6 separate regions of the Homo sapiens genome follow, and all the other regions are linked to region 2. The links are contacts of gene promoters, found by promoter capture Hi-C in blood cells and fetal thymus (Javierre and others, 2016). All regions are on one chromosome and are shown on one strand. The core of a region is centred on a gene start or on the middle of the fragment in contact, and the rest is flanking DNA. Distances in the headings are between cores, read along the strand shown.

The links. Contacts are between HindIII fragments. The CHiCAGO score rates a contact against its expected background, and 5 or more counts as called.
Region 1: a contact is called between a fragment that was not itself captured here and the fragment with the promoter of GLIPR1 in region 2, in 8 of 17 cell types (naive CD8 T cells, total CD8 T cells, total CD4 T cells and 5 more). The highest score is 11.9, in naive CD8 T cells.
Region 3: a fragment that was not itself captured here is called in contact with the fragment with the promoter of GLIPR1 in region 2 in 4 of 17 cell types (monocytes, M0 macrophages, M2 macrophages and 1 more); the score reaches 6.8 in monocytes.
Region 4: a contact is called between a fragment that was not itself captured here and the fragment with the promoter of GLIPR1 in region 2, in 4 of 17 cell types (total CD4 T cells, activated CD4 T cells, monocytes and 1 more). The highest score is 6.4, in total CD4 T cells.
Region 5: the fragment with the promoter of BBS10 here is called in contact with the fragment with the promoter of GLIPR1 in region 2 in 2 of 17 cell types (naive B cells and total B cells); the score reaches 8.6 in naive B cells.
Region 6: a fragment that was not itself captured here is called in contact with the fragment with the promoter of GLIPR1 in region 2 in 8 of 17 cell types (activated CD4 T cells, naive CD4 T cells, naive CD8 T cells and 5 more); the score reaches 9.8 in activated CD4 T cells.

The regions. Positions count from the first base shown.
Region 1 is chr12:76,016,156-76,018,855 of GRCh38, forward strand. No RefSeq gene overlaps it. Among named protein-coding and RNA genes, the nearest start is that of PHLDA1-AS1, 13 kb to the right of the region's middle. The HindIII fragment of the contact is 6,475 bases long and covers 1-2,700 here.
Region 2 is chr12:75,479,417-75,482,116 of GRCh38, forward strand. It overlaps GLIPR1 (GLI pathogenesis related 1), which reads left to right and starts at 1,339. Exons shown (of 6, transcript NM_006851.3): 1 at 1,339-1,638; 2 at 2,418-2,663. The coding sequence starts at 1,465. The HindIII fragment of the contact is 5,495 bases long and covers 1-2,700 here.
Region 3 is chr12:76,153,855-76,156,554 of GRCh38, forward strand. No RefSeq gene overlaps it. Among named protein-coding and RNA genes, the nearest start is that of NAP1L1, 71 kb to the left of the region's middle. The HindIII fragment of the contact is 904 bases long and covers 814-1,717 here.
Region 4 is chr12:76,370,507-76,373,206 of GRCh38, forward strand. OSBPL8 (oxysterol binding protein like 8) reads right to left here. Exons shown (of 24, transcript NM_020841.5): 19 at 942-1,078. Among named protein-coding and RNA genes, the nearest start is that of BBS10, 23 kb to the left of the region's middle. The HindIII fragment of the contact is 2,592 bases long and covers 129-2,700 here.
Region 5 is chr12:76,347,102-76,349,801 of GRCh38, forward strand. It overlaps BBS10 (Bardet-Biedl syndrome 10), which reads right to left and starts at 1,314. Exons shown (of 2, transcript NM_024685.4): 1 at 1,061-1,314; 2 at 1-686. The coding sequence starts at 1,257. RefSeq lists enhancers at 620-1,569, 1,570-2,519, 1,666-1,715. The HindIII fragment of the contact is 11,737 bases long and covers 1-2,700 here.
Region 6 is chr12:76,049,849-76,052,548 of GRCh38, forward strand. It overlaps NAP1L1 (nucleosome assembly protein 1 like 1), which reads right to left. Exons shown (of 15, transcript NM_004537.7): 12 at 683-805. Among named protein-coding and RNA genes, the nearest start is that of PHLDA1-DT, 19 kb to the left of the region's middle. The HindIII fragment of the contact is 3,492 bases long and covers 1-2,700 here.

The DNA of each region.
Region 1 (2,700 bases), core at 124-2,623, 540 kb after region 2:
CTTGTTAACGGCAAAGCCAAGTCTAGAATCTAGGATTCTTTCTACTACTCTTTGTTGACCCTTGAGGAATCTCCCGGGATAGTGTAAAAGCATGCTCCTCTTGTTGAGCATGAATGAAAAGCCTGAGATTCTTCTCCTGTTTTCTTGATTTGGATCTTTTGATAGACTCTGTGATTGGTGCTGGACATGACGTCTCTAAGGGAGCTAGCTTCTGCAAAACCAGCAAGCACCACTGATGGTGTCTCTGGCTTTATTGCTCCAGTTTCCGCTAAGAACCTTCGATCTTTCTTATATCTTTACCATGTCAATATGACTCTGACAGGAAGGCACTGAAAGCAACTACGTATTTCTGTTTTGAAATTTAGTTTTGTTCTATTTAAATTGTTCAGATGTAACGAAGGACCAATTGAAAATCATTACAACAGTACCATATGAGAAAGGAAAGTGTAAACCTTAGTAAGAATTATAAGAATACCTAAAATAGCCGGGCGCGGTGGCTCACGCCTGTAATCCCAGCACTTGGGGAGGCCGAGGCGGGCGGATCACGAAGTCAGGAGATCGAGACCATCCTGGTTAACATGGTGAAACCCCTTCTCTACTAAAAATACAAAAAAAATTAGCTGGGTGTGGTGGTGGGCGCCTGTAGTCCCAGCTACTCGGGAGGCTGAGGCAGGAGAATGGCGTGAACCCGGGAGGCAGAGCTTGCAGTGAGCCGAGATCACGCCACTGCACTCCAGCCTGGGTGAGAGTGCAAGACTCCGTCTCAAAAAAAAAAAAAAAAAAAAAAGAATACCTAAAATACTCTAAATTAATGTCTTTAAGAGCATTCCCATCTCTGAGAGAGGTCTGCATCGTATTTTAGTGCTAGCACACAGCCACAGTTTGCATAGCGTTTAAGCGCAAAGGCAGTGGAGTTAAATACCCAGATAACAATTCTCATCCTGCTGTTTATTTGGCAAGTTTCTTCAGTTCCCCAATCCTCAATTTCTTATCTATTAAGTAGAGGCTAATAAGACCTATAATAGAGGCTGCTAGTTTCCTTTCCAATAACCATTCTCCCCTCCTTCTTTGCTGACAGAACCCTAATTTTATTTGGGATGGCAATTTGGCCAGTACATTTCTAGCCCTCCTTTGCAACCCTGGATAGCAAATGTGGTGTTAAGTGGAAGTCACCATATTGGGATTCCAAAATTTTTCTAGGCTGGATATGGTAGCTCAAACTTGTAATCCCAGCACTATGGGAGGCCAAGTTGAGAGAATCACTTAAGTCCAGGAGTTCGAGACAAGTCTGGGCAACATAGGGAGACCCTGTCTCTACAAATAATTTAAAAATTAGTTGAGTGTGGTGGTGCGTGCCTGTGATCCCAGCTTCTCAGGAGGCTGAGGCAGGGGGATCACCTGAGCCCAGGAGGTTGAGGCTGCAGTGAGCTGCTGTTTCCCTAATTTTCTTTCTTCCTGTTCTAGAGCTCGAATATGGTAGCTGGAACTCCAGCAGCCATCTTGAATCATGAGGCTAGAAGTCCTGTACCAAGGGTGGTAGAAGAGAAAAGAAAGAAGGAACCCGGATCTGTGACAAACTAAAGTCACCTTACCCACCCTGGGCCACCCACATCTAGGTTACTTTTACATAAAAGAGAAGTAAATCTTTATCTTAATACACTTATTTTGATTTATCTGTAACAACAGGGTGTTTTTTTTTTGAGACGGAGTTTCACTCTTGTTGCCCAGGCTAGAGTGCAATGGCGTGATCTTGGCTCACCGCAATCTCCGCCTCCTGGGTTCAAGCAATTCTCCTGTCTCAGCCTCCCGAGTAGCTGGGATTACAGGCGCCTGCCACCAAGCCCAGCTAATTTTTTGTATTTTTAGTAGAGAAGGGGTTTCACCATGTTGGCCAGGCTGGTCTTGAACTCCTCACCTCAGGTGATCCGCCCACCTTGGCATCCCAAAGTGCTGGGATTACAGGCATGAGCCACCGCTCCTGGCCTGCCCTGTGGTCCTATTTTACACAGTCATTTGGTTCAACTGAATATCATTTTTTAAAGCCACATTGAAATCAAAGTGTTTTCCCAGGCTCTTAGAGTGCCCGGGTCAAGAATGCTGACAATCTGCTGTCAGAGAGAGAGGCTGTCCGCGTTACCCCCTATCAGCCCTCCCAGTCATCACTTGCATAAGAACCAGCAGGCAATCCACTGCCTTGTGACAAGCACTGTGACTCCAGGAGGGAGCCAAGTGCTATGAATGAAACCCCGTAAAAGGTCACTTTATGTAAGAGGAAATGTTGGCATCACCCAGAGCACATACACAATTTTGAATTAAAAGCCGGATTGCTGGATGCAGAAGTACATCTACTTATTAAAGATCCTGCTCCTTTTTTCTCCCTATCCTTTCATGAAAAGTTATTACAAACTCTAAAATCTTCTCCAAGTTAAATCCTTAAGTAAAAGAAGCACACAAGAAAACATTGTGTGGTTTGAAGTTCTTAATATCCTAGGTAGGTCAAAAACTGTTATTTATGGTTTAATTTGGAGCTATGTGAATTGCATTCACCTAGTTGCCCAGAAGGGCAGCAACAAATTTTTATCACTCCACGTATTAGGATCTCACCAGTGCCCATAGATCCACTACCCTCAACCAACCTTTTCAGAAAATATTTCTCCCAACACCTACACAGGCTACAAATCTAGGCAGCTACCTCCTCAA
Region 2 (2,700 bases), core at 89-2,588:
TTCCCCACCTCATTCCATTTTCCATCTCTCTTAATTTTCTAAAATACACGTGTTTTCTAAAACCAGGTCTAAACCCCACCTACAGCTAAAATCCTCCAATAACTTCCCATGACTTTGGTGATAAAATAAAAAATCATTAGCAGAATTGAGAAATCCTTCCTGATCTGACTCTTAACTTCTCTCCCCCAAGTGGCATGAAAGCATCATTTGGATTCTGAATTCCATGACACCAGGTATCAAGTTTTCTACCAGTCAGAATCACTACTTATTTACAGACCATATTTACAGAGGGAGACAATATGGAGAGGTTCTTGCTCTATTCTTGCCATAACACCATGTCTTCAATTTCACAACTAGATATATAGTTCCTATCCCTCTAATTCCCTTCTCCTCTCCAGCGCTTTTTCACTTGATCAACACCTAGCTGATTCTAGCCTCAGCAAAGACCTCACCTGCTGTATGTAGGCCGGCTCTGCCGTTTCCAGAATGGGTTAAGTATGCTCTCTTGTGTGTCCATATCTACCTGTGCTTTCCTATATCCAGATCTCCAACAGCCCCTGTTGTAACATCCTTGTCATCACCATCTCACAGCTCTTACCACTGTAAGCTCCTTGGGGCCAGTGACTGTGTTTTTATTTCTGTATTACTAAGGTGAATATACAAGGCAGGAATTTAATATTAGCTAGTTCATTTGATCCTGCCAAACCTCTGTAATTAAGGAAGCAGAAAAGGTCCCATAGTCTCATTCAATAGGTGGCTGAGGTTTAGAGAGTTTTGTATCCTGTCCAAGGTCTTACAGCTAGTTAGAAACAGAAACTAAATTCTCAACTTGAGTCCTGTATTCTTTCTACTATTCTCCCTCTCAATCCCTCTCTCTCTTTCTCTCTCTCTCTCTTTCTCTCCCTCTCTCTCTCTCACACACACACACACACACACACATACACGCTTACATGTTTCTACCATCGTGAATGAATTCTAGGTCAAGTTTATGATGTTAACCAGATATTCCAACCACTATGTGTTGATATGACTCTAAAAAGAAAAAGATTTCTGAAAGCATTTTGCGAGGCATTTATAGAAGTAAGAGATATTTTCATTTTATCACCGCAACCTCCATTAAAAATTGGAGACTATTATTCCTGGAGACTTCAGAATTTTCTTTGGAAATATCTCCCAATTCAAAAGGAAGTCTGACACAGCCTCATAAAAATCTATGTCGTAATAGGTGCTGTGTCACTGAAAACCACTGAAAAGACAGGGTTAAGAACACAAAGTGAGCTGCACACCATATATGGAGAAACCCGTTTCTTAAAACTAGTGATGAACTCATGCTCTGTTCTGTTTTCTCAAAGCTGAAGTCGGCTAGGTTTGCAAAGCTGTGGGCTGAGCACTCAGGCAATCACACTCTCAGAAACTGCGGCGGCTCTGGACTGCAGCCTCCCAAGGCTCCATGCCAGACAAAGCATGCGTGTCACACTTGCTACAATAGCCTGGATGGTTTCTTTTGTCTCCAATTATTCACACACAGCAAATATTTTGCCAGATATCGAAAATGAAGATTTCATCAAAGACTGCGTTCGAATCCATAACAAGTTCCGATCAGAGGTGAAACCAACAGCCAGTGATATGCTATACATGGTAAGGAAAATATCATTAATTGTGGCGTCAGTCAGTCAGAAACAACTAATGTGTATTGACTTTGGTGTTAATACCTTCGTAATACTGAATGATTTTTTTTTCATTGTGATTAATGTATGCAGTAAATTCACAGTCTGTGATCAAAACACATCCAGTTTAGCTCTGTCTACCCAACTGTTGTTATAAGCAAGTGCCACAGCACATTTTACTTCTCTTTGGACACTTCCTGTTTTCTGGTTTTCAGTGGATTTTACTTCTCTTTTTGTTATCTTCCTCCCTGTTAATTTTTGTGATTTGGTTTTCTTTTTTTTTTTTTTTTTTTGTCTCTAAATTTACTTTTTTTGCTGCTGACAAAGTACTGAGTTGCTCAGGTAGGCAGAATGGCATCTGGGGAAAGGATGGGATTTTGATTCAGTAAGGCTTGGGATTGAATTTCAGATCTGTGGCTTTAAGCTGGTTTTTAACCTTTCTGAACTTCTTAGGATATGGGCTGTTGTGGTTATGGAATAATGTTGTGAAACACGGCACACACTATTTTGCCCACAATTAGCCTTCAGTGAAATGTCAGTTTTCCTCACTTAGATTCTAAATTCCATGAAACTAAATTGTCACGTTTCCTACCAGCCCTACTCAGTGCTTGAAGACCATATTTATAGAGGACTCATATGCAGTGGTATCTTCTCTCCTTATCTCACCTCGTTTTCCATTCAAATTCCCACTGTACTCACCCCAGTTACATTTCAGATGAACCCCCTATTGTTTAATGTTTATTTTTGCAGACTTGGGACCCAGCACTAGCCCAAATTGCAAAAGCATGGGCCAGCAATTGCCAGTTTTCACATAATACACGGCTGAAGCCACCCCACAAGCTGCACCCAAACTTCACTTCACTGGGAGAGAACATCTGGACTGGGTCTGTGCCCATTTTTTCTGTGTCTTCCGCCATCACAAACTGGTATGACGAAATCCAGGACTATGACTTCAAGACTCGGATATGCAAAAAAGTCTGTGGCCACTACACTCAGGTAAGGATCTGCCCTATATTATCTTGAAACTGTCTTT
Region 3 (2,700 bases), core at 16-2,515, 670 kb after region 2:
CACAGCCAAGCCCAGACGCAAGGTATGGTGAAATAGAATCTACCTCTTGGTGGGAGGAGCTTCAAATTCACATTTTAAAGAGGTATGCTTACAGAGATGGGAAAAAATTATAGTCATTTTTGCAATTCACCACCAGTACATAGTTTGTATGAAGCTTAACATTTTAGAAATATAGACAAAGCATCCGCCATTGTGTGTGTGTATATATATAATATATATATAAATTTATATATATATATATATATGCACTTTTTTTTTTGAGACTGAGTCTCACTCTGTCACCAAGGCTGGAGGGCAGTGGTGTGATTTTGGCTCACTGCAACCTCCACTTCCCAGGTTCCAGCAATTCTCCTGCCTCAGCCTTCTAAGTAACTGGGATTACAGGCACTCACCACCGCGCCCAGTTAATTTTTGTATTTTTAGTAGAGACGGGTCTTCACCATATTGGCCAGGCTGGTCTCAAACTCCTGACCTCAAGTGATTCACCCGCCTCAGCCTCCCAAAGTGCTGGGATTGCAGGCATGCACCACCACGCCTGGCCTGGATTGTATATTTTATTTTAGCCTTACCTGCTGATTGAGTTGCAAATCAGGCAAGTCGAAAAAAAAAAATCCCATTCGACAACACAAATCCTACTTTTCTTTCATGATTTTAGTTTCAGATTACCTGTAGAACTTGATGCCACACAGAGCAGTTGCAGTTGGACCAAAGTGTGGTGATTATAGATGGGGTTGGGGTGAGGAAAGGCTGTCCATGGGCTGTGAGAGTAGGCTTCTCAAGTTTTAAGCTTCCATGATGTCACCATGGACTAAAAGCTTGCAGAAACAAAAGGAAAACAGCAAAAATGCTTTATTTTTCTATAAGAGCAAATAGATCTGGCCTCGCTGGGCAAAAAAACATGTATGCATAATTTAGTGAATGGGCATCTTTGGTGACTGATGGAAAAGGGATTTAGCTGAGACTCAATCCCTGGGTGAGAGACAGAGAGTAGTGAGTCAAAACCTCTAGAGAACGGTCACAAAGAGAGCTCATTCTCCATGTAATAATGTTTGAGAATCCTTCAGTGTGAGGAAGGTAGTAATTCTTTTTGATTTTTCTGAGACAGGGTCTATGTTGCCCAGGCTAATCTCAAACTCCTGGCCTCAAGGAATCCTCCTGCCTCACCCTCCTGAATCACTGGGACTACAGAAAGGTAGTAAGTCTACCACTGTGCCCAGAAAAGTAGTAAGTCTAATAAACCTAGACATTAATGCAGCATGACCCTGTTTTTTACTTTCCTCGTTTATAATGGGGGAGAATCTGGTTGTGCTAGGGATGTTTTCCCCCTACCTCGTCCCTTTCTCCTCACCCGTGAACAGGTTCTGTGGATCATGATTCTTAGATAATATTCCTCACTTTCCCAAATGGCCTGCTCATGGTTATCTCTTCCCATAAGGCAATGAAGTGAAAATAGACATTAGCTGTCAGCTGTCAATCATTTTTTATGAAGACCCCCAAGATGAGCACTGAAGAAATACTCCCCTTTCTGAAATACAGTAATATTCAGCTTTGCTTGGTATCTTCTGAGCCAAAACATGGCTTAAGTGATGAATAAGTAACAGGGTGTTGCCTGAATTTTCCATATGCCTCACATTTTGGAAAAGCCTAGGAGAAAGGAAATAACTGTTAAAACATAAACATTGAGAGGGAATTTATAGTAATGTGGTTCAGTGCCCTAAGCTTATAAAGGGGCCTTGGCCACTATTGATTCCAAGTGGAAAAGCAAGACCAAAAAGTTAGGCCCAGGACAAGGCATGGTGGCTCACTCCTGTAATCCCAGCACTTTGGGAGACCAAGGTGGGTGGATCACCTGAGGTCAGGAGATTGAGAGCAGCCTGGTCAACATAGCGAAACCCCATCTCTACTAAAAATACAAAAATTAGCTGGGCGTGGTGGCACATGCTTGTAATCCCAGCTTCTCGGGAGGCTGAGGCAGGAGAATCACATGAACCCGGGATGTGGAGGTTTCAGTGACTAGAGATCACGCCACTGCAATCCAGCCTGGGCAACAGAGCAAGACTCTGTCTCAAAAAAAAAAAAAAAAAAAAAAGTTAGGTCTTGGGCCCCTCGGCCCCTCCTCCACCAGAGCTCTCTTATCTGTTATCTGTTTTACACATTGGGATTTTGCAAAATGTTTCTTGTGATGAAAGTTTCCTAATGCTAAGACATCATTTTGTAGATGAGGAACTGGAGGCCCAGCAAAATGTGGTGACTTGCTCAAGGTCACAGCAGTTGTCATTTGTTGAGCTGAGGGCGGAACTCAAATCTCAATCTCTAGTCCAATGTACTTTGTTCTATAGCATGCCATGTTCCACTTCTTCATATCTAAGCTGGGCAACTTCCTTTTAGTAGATTCTCACTCACAAGATATTAAGGATATTGCCAAAATGTATAGCACAAATCAGAAGATGAAAACTGTCATTTCTTTTTTGAATGATTGCTACAATATGATCTGGGTTCTGGCTTAGAGTTCTTACTTTGCCTCTCACAAGCTGGGTGACATAATATTTTTCTGTTGCTCTTTCCTCCCTATAAAATGGAGACACTGAAGTTCAAGTGAGTTACTGCTCAGTTTTTTTGTAAGCAAGAAGATAATAAATATGGAACATTGCAGTGATGATTGATTTATTGCTTTAATTGTACACAAAAACCCCACTTAAT
Region 4 (2,700 bases), core at 175-2,674, 890 kb after region 2:
AGTCAAGTCCTAGAGCTGCCACTTCTTAGCTGGTGCACTTAAAGTTATTTATCCTAAGTCTCATTTCCTCATCTTCAAATATGCTGAATTATATACTCTCACAAATTATCATATGTATGCCTTGGCAAAGCTTATCTCTGGAAAAAGAACATCAAATGGTTATGGCTGAGACAGAATTTTTAGAACTGGTACATATACATTCTTCCATCTTTGACAACCTCAAATTTGAGTGTAGAAGGGAAGGTACACAGACTTGAATTCCCATGACAGAGAATGATATGTATGTGCAAACATGTAGGGAGGACAAAGTTGCATAATAAGTACTAAGTGCCTAGCAAAATATCTCTTATACATAAGTCTCTTTCTCTTAACACAAAGATATAACAACAATAAAATAGGGAATGTGTATACAATATTTCTGATTCAAAAATATAAGCCATCTAGCAAGAAGTTCATGACTTAAGAACAGAAATGATAGCCTTAGTTATTACCCAACTAATAAATCCTATAGAAGCCAGTCCATCCAGTAACTTTACTTTTGTATCAGAGAATGGAACAGAAGTAGATTCTGCACCACTCCCTTTACCTAGAGTTCTAATGCTTAAATCAGGTTAGAAAACTGTTGCCAGGTAGAAACTAAGAGTCATTAATTAGTCCTGTAATCTTATTTAAACAAAAACGTTCTTTCTTTCTTTTTTTTTAAGGTGCTGGAACAATTGAGAAAGAAAAAAATGAGTAGTTTTGAGCTACAGAAAAGCAAGACGATTTATATTATATTTGACATTCATATACACAAAAACAGAATACTGTCACTTCCACAAATGATAAACTATTTTGCTGAATTAAGATATGACAGAAGGTGACAAAATGACCATATCATTAAGGAATTGAAAAACTACTCTCTGATCCTCATGAAGTTAGCTGTAAAACAGTATACTTACTTCTCTGATTCAAAATCTCCCTGTTCTTCAAATTTTACAGTGTGCCTTATTAATCTCCATTGCTTAATGTCAGGTGTTGGATTCCAGAAAACCTCTGAATTATCAGTCTTTTTATCAGTAATAAAAACTTCACTATCCTATATTTAAAAAAATTCAAAATTAATGTAAAGAATTATACTTAGAAGGCAATTATATAGTATAGTAATATGACGGTGATAATTTCTTCTGGTTAATCCTCCAGTTAAAAGCATTTTTAAAACAAATATAACTAGCACTTTTCCAAAAACTCCAAGTTTCTTATCATTTTTATAAAAACATTAAGATTGACTACGTAATACTAGTTAATTAAAAAGAATTTGGTTGAATATCCAGTTTGTGAAATTTCATAAGTTTTACTTAATAAATTTCAAACATTACATGCAAAGCCTCAATAACCATCTCCAAACTGTCCAAGTAGAGCATAGTATTTGTTGCAGCTACAATGAGATGCTGTTGACTATCCATGGATTCAATATACTCAAACATACACACACACACATCCCTCTGAAAGAGCCTTTACTAGCATTAAAAATTTGAGGTCTATCTCTATCGAATAATCTTTCTATCTAAGACATGGACGGTCTTGCTCTCTTGTGTAGGCTGGAGTGCAGCGGTGCTATCTACCTTATCTATCTAATCTATTTTACCTATCTAATTTATCTACCTGTTTAACCATCCTTCTCCTTCTCTCTCTCTCTGTCATCTCTCACTCTCATCTCTATCTTATCTATCTGTCTGAGACAGGGTCTTGCTTTCTCACCCAGGCTGGAGGGCAGTAGCACAATCATGGCTCACTGCAGCTTCCACCTCCCAGGCTCAAGCAATCTTCCTGCCTTAGCTTCCTGAGTAGCTGGGACAGGCATGTGCCATCATGCCCATCTAATTTTTTTATTTTTATGTTTAGTAGAGAAGAGGTCTTGTTATGTCACCCAGGCTGATCTCAAACTCCTGAGCTTCCCAAAGTGCTGGAATTATAGGTGTGAGCCACCCCACCCAGACAGAAATTTCATTTTTTAAAAATGACTGCTGCTTTATCTTTTTTCCAGAAGACTCTCAGATTTAAGGCAATTAAAAAAAATTTTCAGAGTGTATGTGGCCACTTAACAAAGTCCCTAACTTCACTTTCTCATATTTCTCAACATTTTCTGCTTACTGCATGCAGAAAGGAGCATATACTCAGTGCTCATAGTATGGTATATCCATGCAGTACCATGATTCTTTTTATTCATTTAAGCGTCTCTTAACAAAATTACATAAATATGAATTTAGGTTAGCAGAGAAGTAAATAAAAGCCATTGCTCTCACACACCACTATATCCTTTCCATGTTCCACTGAAAGGAATATAACTCTAATTGGAACTATGCCTCTTTCTTCTATGTGAGTAGAGTGCTGTGCATAAAAGCACAGTCCTGGGGCCAGGGTTCCTGGGCTTTAATTCTTGTTCCACTACCTACTTTGAGCAAATTATGTGAACTCTCTGTGCCTCAGTGTCCTCTTCTGTAAAATGGGGACAATAATAAACAATAATAAAATGGGCATGGCACCTATATACTCACCTCATAGCGTTATATGTTATAAATATTAAATCAGTTAATATGAGTAACATTCTTAAATAATGCAGTAAGTCATATATAAGTGTTAGCTATTTCTACTGATTTTAAGTTTTGGAAATAAAATATTACACAAAATTAACTACTGTTGATAACAGAACACCACCAA
Region 5 (2,700 bases), core at 64-2,563, 870 kb after region 2:
TTGTCTTTTCCATAATCCAAAATTGAGATGTCTGAAACTGTGCTTCTGAATTTAGAATAAACTCTGATCCAGAAGTGGAAAAAAGAGGCTGAATGGTTTCTGTTACTATCACCATTCGCATGTCACCATCTGCTGGGCGGTACACAGAAAAATCTTTCTGAAGCACAAGACCAGCTATGATCCTGGAATCTGAAACAGGAAGGCCAGTGACACCAACATTCAACTCTACAAAATGGTCATCCACTAACTCAAATACACCAATCCCACTTTTACAAGTCATACACTTGAAAAAGTAGTCACACATCAACTGTGAAATAAATTTATGATTATTTCTTCCCACTCTTCCACAAAAGTATGCTTCTAAGAGCAACTCTAAAGAGCTCCTACACAATGTTCTCTCTTTAGCAGACGAAAAGATAGACAAAAAGTGTCTACTTAGGTACTGGTCCATAATACCGTCTAATATTTGTGTCTGAAACGTTAGGAGAGCCTGGGAAATAAATTTCCACCGAGAACAATTTTTCCAATGCCTTCCATGGGTTTGAATGTTTTCACACATCAAAGGATCCTTTTCTCTGTCTGTGATTGCATGAAGTCCTCTAAGCAAATGGCAAAGAAAGATAATAAATGTTTTTGCACCATCTCCTGTTTTTTTGAGATGACTGGAAACACAGTCCACTATCATCCTGTACAAAAAAGAAATAAAGCAACTCATTTTCAGAAGGCTGGCTTCCCACATCTTAAAACCATGTTTACACAGCCATAAGCATAAAATGAGAATATTGTTCCTTGGATACATCCTTAGTTTTTTCCTTTCTTGGAAAAAACTCTGCTCTATTCCAAGATTCCACCGTTGGGTGGAGTGGGGAGAAGTGGTCTTGAGAATTGGTAAGATTTGGGGTGCAGGAGTGTTCCCTTGGGCAGGGCTCTAATTCCGAGCATACAGCGGTTTCACCCGAGGTCAGTCTTTCTAAGTACGCATCGCCTCAGGATGGGACAAGAGCTCCACAGAGGCTGCCTGGGGTGCCCGGCTACGGGTTAGCGTGTGGGACGCGGGTACCTGGCTATGGGATGCTCTAAGTGTAGCGCCTCCAGGAGGCGGCCTCCATTCCGGCTGAGAAGCACCTCGCCAGTGGGCTTCGTACACAAAACTTGCCGTCCCTCGGGCCCCACGCAGCAGCTCACGATGGCTTCCAGCACCTCGGCCACCTGCAACGCCGCCTTCACAGACCCTGCAGCGGCCATAGAACTTAACATATCTGGGCCGCTTCCCCTTTTTGACCAGCTTGCAGAACACCCGGGCCGACCGAAAACAGGGGTGGGAACGGCCGGAAACGGAATAGGCGGGGAGAAAACCCGGAAGCCAGGAGTCGAAGCCGGGGTAGCACGGCTTCTTGGTTGGGCGAGAGGGCTGCCCTTCTGTCCGCCTGGTGGAAAAGCCCTGCAGCTTTGCCAGGTGGGGTGAGCTGGCCCGTTGTACGCGAAGGCAGAAAAAACAGACTAGGATTTCCAGCAGCTGTGCCTGGAGCGGCAACCCTAAGCCCCTCCCCGGCTCCCTAGGTGAATTCATCTCCCTCCAGTGGCGTCCGCTGCCCCCAAATCCCTTAGTCTCCCGAGAAACTTTCTTCCTAAGTCAACACGGTAGTGGGGCCTGCGTGAAGGAGAGGGCACCCCGGTTGGAACTCTGCTGGCTTTCATCCCCTGCCAGAAGCTGCTTTTTCCGGGGCAAAACCTCTGCCTTGGATTCACGCATGTTCCTGTCCACATTCCCCACGAGTTGCTCTCCTTACCATAACGGAAATAATTTGTAGATGCAGGACAGGTGAGGAGAGCCTGGCCACAGCCATGAATTGCAGGCTTTATGTCTGCTGCAGAGGCTTTACCACATTTCCTAGACTCAGGTATCACAATAAAACTCTAGACACCACAAATATATTAAGCAGAAATGATGCGAAGTCTCTATTTTTTGAGATGGACTCCCGCTCTGTCGCCCAGGCTGGAGTGCAGTGGCGCAATCTCGGCTGACTGCAACCTCCGCCTCCCGGGCTCAAGCGATTCCCGTGCCTCAGCCTCTCAAGTAGCTGGGATTACAGGCATACGCCACTGTGCCCCGCCAATATTTGTATTTTTAGTAGAGATGGGGATGTCACCATGTTGACCAGGCTGGTCTCGAACTCATGACCTGAATGATCCACCTGCCACGGCCTTTCAGAGTGTTGGGATTACAGGCATGAGCCGCTGTGCAGATTTAAATCCATTAATCACGTCGGTGATCAACAGTATGCTTTAAAACACATGGCCAAGGATTATTGTATATAACCCAAAGACAGAAAATACTGTCTCTTATAACATTTTTTTTGTTTTTTAAGAGATGAAGTTTCACTCTGCCGCCCAGGCTGGAGTGCAGTGGCGAGATCATAGCTTACTGCAGCTCCGCATTCCTGAGCTCGTGATCCTCCTGTCTTAGCCTTCAAGTCGCTTTGTGCCTCACTACGCCTGGTTATTTTCTCTTTTAGTAGAGACAGGGTCTCCCTGTGTTGCCCAGGCTGATCTTGAATTCCTGGCCTCAAGTGATCCTCCCAACTTGGCCTTCCAAAGTTTTAGGATTACAGGCATGAGCCACCTTGCCTGGCCTAAAACACAGGCACTTGAGAGCATGGGCTTTGGATTCAGACCTGGATTTGCTCTGTCATTTCCTTA
Region 6 (2,700 bases), core at 46-2,545, 570 kb after region 2:
TAACATTTATCACTGTATAAACTAGTGTCTAAAAAGAGAAAACCTACTTTCCTATCAAGGGGCTGATTATAAATTAAAACACATAGTAGCTGCAAGAATCACTCTGCTCACTGCCAATTTATAAAATTAAAGAACAGAGTACAATCATGTGGATAAAGTGGATGATCAGACAAGTATTACTGTAAATATTACTCACCTACACTTAAGTGTGGAATGCACTGTACGAAAAGGACCTAAAGCCTACTCTAACAATTGCCGTTGAGCAATAAACATATTCAAAACATCTATATGCAACCTAATCTTAACCTAACCATCATTCAATACTACCTTGAATAGAAATTCTATGCCTCCCAGTAAATGTTTTCTTGTGCACTAAAGAAAGTCCTAGCTCTGTGAAGTCAAGGCAAGGGCATAATAGATCTATAGCACTAACCAAACATAAAAAAGTTTCATAAACTCAGAACAATCTTATTAGCAGAAAATTAAAAGCTAAGATAAATGAATCCAAAAATCCTAAGGAGACATACTTAAAACCCAGAAAAGCTATATACAGAACATCAGTAATTAGCCTAATTTTGAATTATATTATGTCCTGCTTCTTAAAAACTAAACTAATCTATTACCAATTCTGACCACTATACCCTCAACCAATTATTTCTTTGCAGGATTCAAATTCGCTTACATCATCATCATCATCTTCAATAGCTTCTCCAGTAAAATATAACACTGATCTTGGGATTATACGCTCACGTAAAAAGTGACCAATTTCGAAGTCTGCAGCAAGGATAGCTTCAGCATCATCATCCTATTTTTAAAGGAAAACAAAAGCAGAAAATTTAGGAATAACTGTGTTACTTAATTTGGCACATGTAAGACTCTTAGAGGCTGGGTGTGATGGCTCACAACTGTAGTCCCAACACTTCAGGAGGCCAAAGTAGGAGGATCACTTGAGCCCAGAAGTTCAAGAGCAACCTAAGCAACATAGTGAGACGCCCCCTGCGTTTGTACAAAAAATAAACAATTAACTGGGCAGGGTGGCACACGCCTGTAGTCTCAGCTACTTGAGAGGCTGAGGTGGGAAGATTGCTGGAGCCCAGCAGCTTGAGGCTGAAATGAGCTGTGATCACACCAGTGTACTCTAGCCTGGGCAACCGAAAAAAAAAAAAAAAAAAGACAGACTCTTCAGTTTAAATTATATGATGAAGGGAAGAAATGCTCAACTTTACTTTTTACTTTCCATGATTTTTCTCACACCATGTTAACAAATGATTTGTCATTTTTAAATTTCCTTAATAACTTTTCCAAGTTTTTAACAAAAAGAAAATAAGCTAGCAGGCCAGTATGCATACTAAGATAAATTGTGAAGAATAAAAATTAGAACTGCTTAGTTTTTGCTGGTTTAAACATAAATACATAAAAGCAACTGTTACATGTCCGCAATTTTCCTTTTAAAATATTATTGAAAACACCAAATAGAAAAATAAAAAAAAAAACCCTTGGGTTATTGTTAATATATAGTTATTGTTAATATTGTTAAGTACATAGCAAATAGAAGGACATAATAAACAACCACAGAGGATCACTTTATAGTTCCTAAAAGACAGTACCCAAACAGCTGTACAGTTTTAAGTCTACTAATCCCAAATGAGACAGTCCTAGTTCAGAAAGACAATATACTAACTAAATCAGGTGCCCCTAGCACTTTTCTTTTTTAGAGACAGGGTCTCGCTATGTTGCCCAGGCTGGCCTCAAGTGATCCTTCCACCTCCGCCACCAGAGCAGCTGGGACTACAGGTGCCTGAAGCTGTACCTGGCTTAGGATTTCTATTTAATAGAAAAGCACAGGGCAAAAGTGGGTCTGACATTATTCACAATTAAAATAATCCCACTTTGGCCTGGCTCATGCCTGTAATCCCAGGACTTTGGGAGGCCAAGGCAGGCAGATTACCTGAGGTCAGGAGTTCAAGACCAGCCTGGCCAACATGGTGAAACCCCGTCTCTACTAAAAATACAAAAATTAGCGAGTTCAATGGCACGTGCCTGTAATCCCAGCTACTCGGGAGGCTGAGGCAGGAGAATTGCTTGAACCCGGGAGGCAGAGGTTGTGGTGAGTGGAGATCGCACCACTGCACTCCAGCCTGGATGACAGAGCAATACTTCATCTCAAAAAAAAAATAATAATAATAAAATAAAATAATCCCACTTCTATGATACTAAACAATGATACAAGTTCTATGATACTAAACAATGAGCACACCCTCTGTGAATTCCATGAATGTTTGAGTCAACAACATAATCTAATAAATAGAAAAATCCAAAAGGGGGTGGGGAGGAATTCAAACCACAGGTGGAGGTTTTCTATCCTTAACTAGACTGTTTTGTCATCATCAATATTTAGTAACAAACAAACAAACAAACAAAAAAAAACCCCAAACTTGAACACAAACTCCAACCCATCCACTGATATGAAAATAGTGTGATGCTCTATCTTAATACTTAAAGTAGTTTTTCTCACCTGAAATTCACACTGCTTTATGTTCTCTTTTTTTGTCCTATAAGCCAAGCCAGAAATACTTACTTTTGCCTTTTACAAATTTGTTCTAAGTCTTAGCCAAGAGTATTCCAATTCAAAAGTATTCAGTTTAGGTTAATTTCTAATTCCATATATGTACAAACTATTTAAACTATCTCAGTTAATTT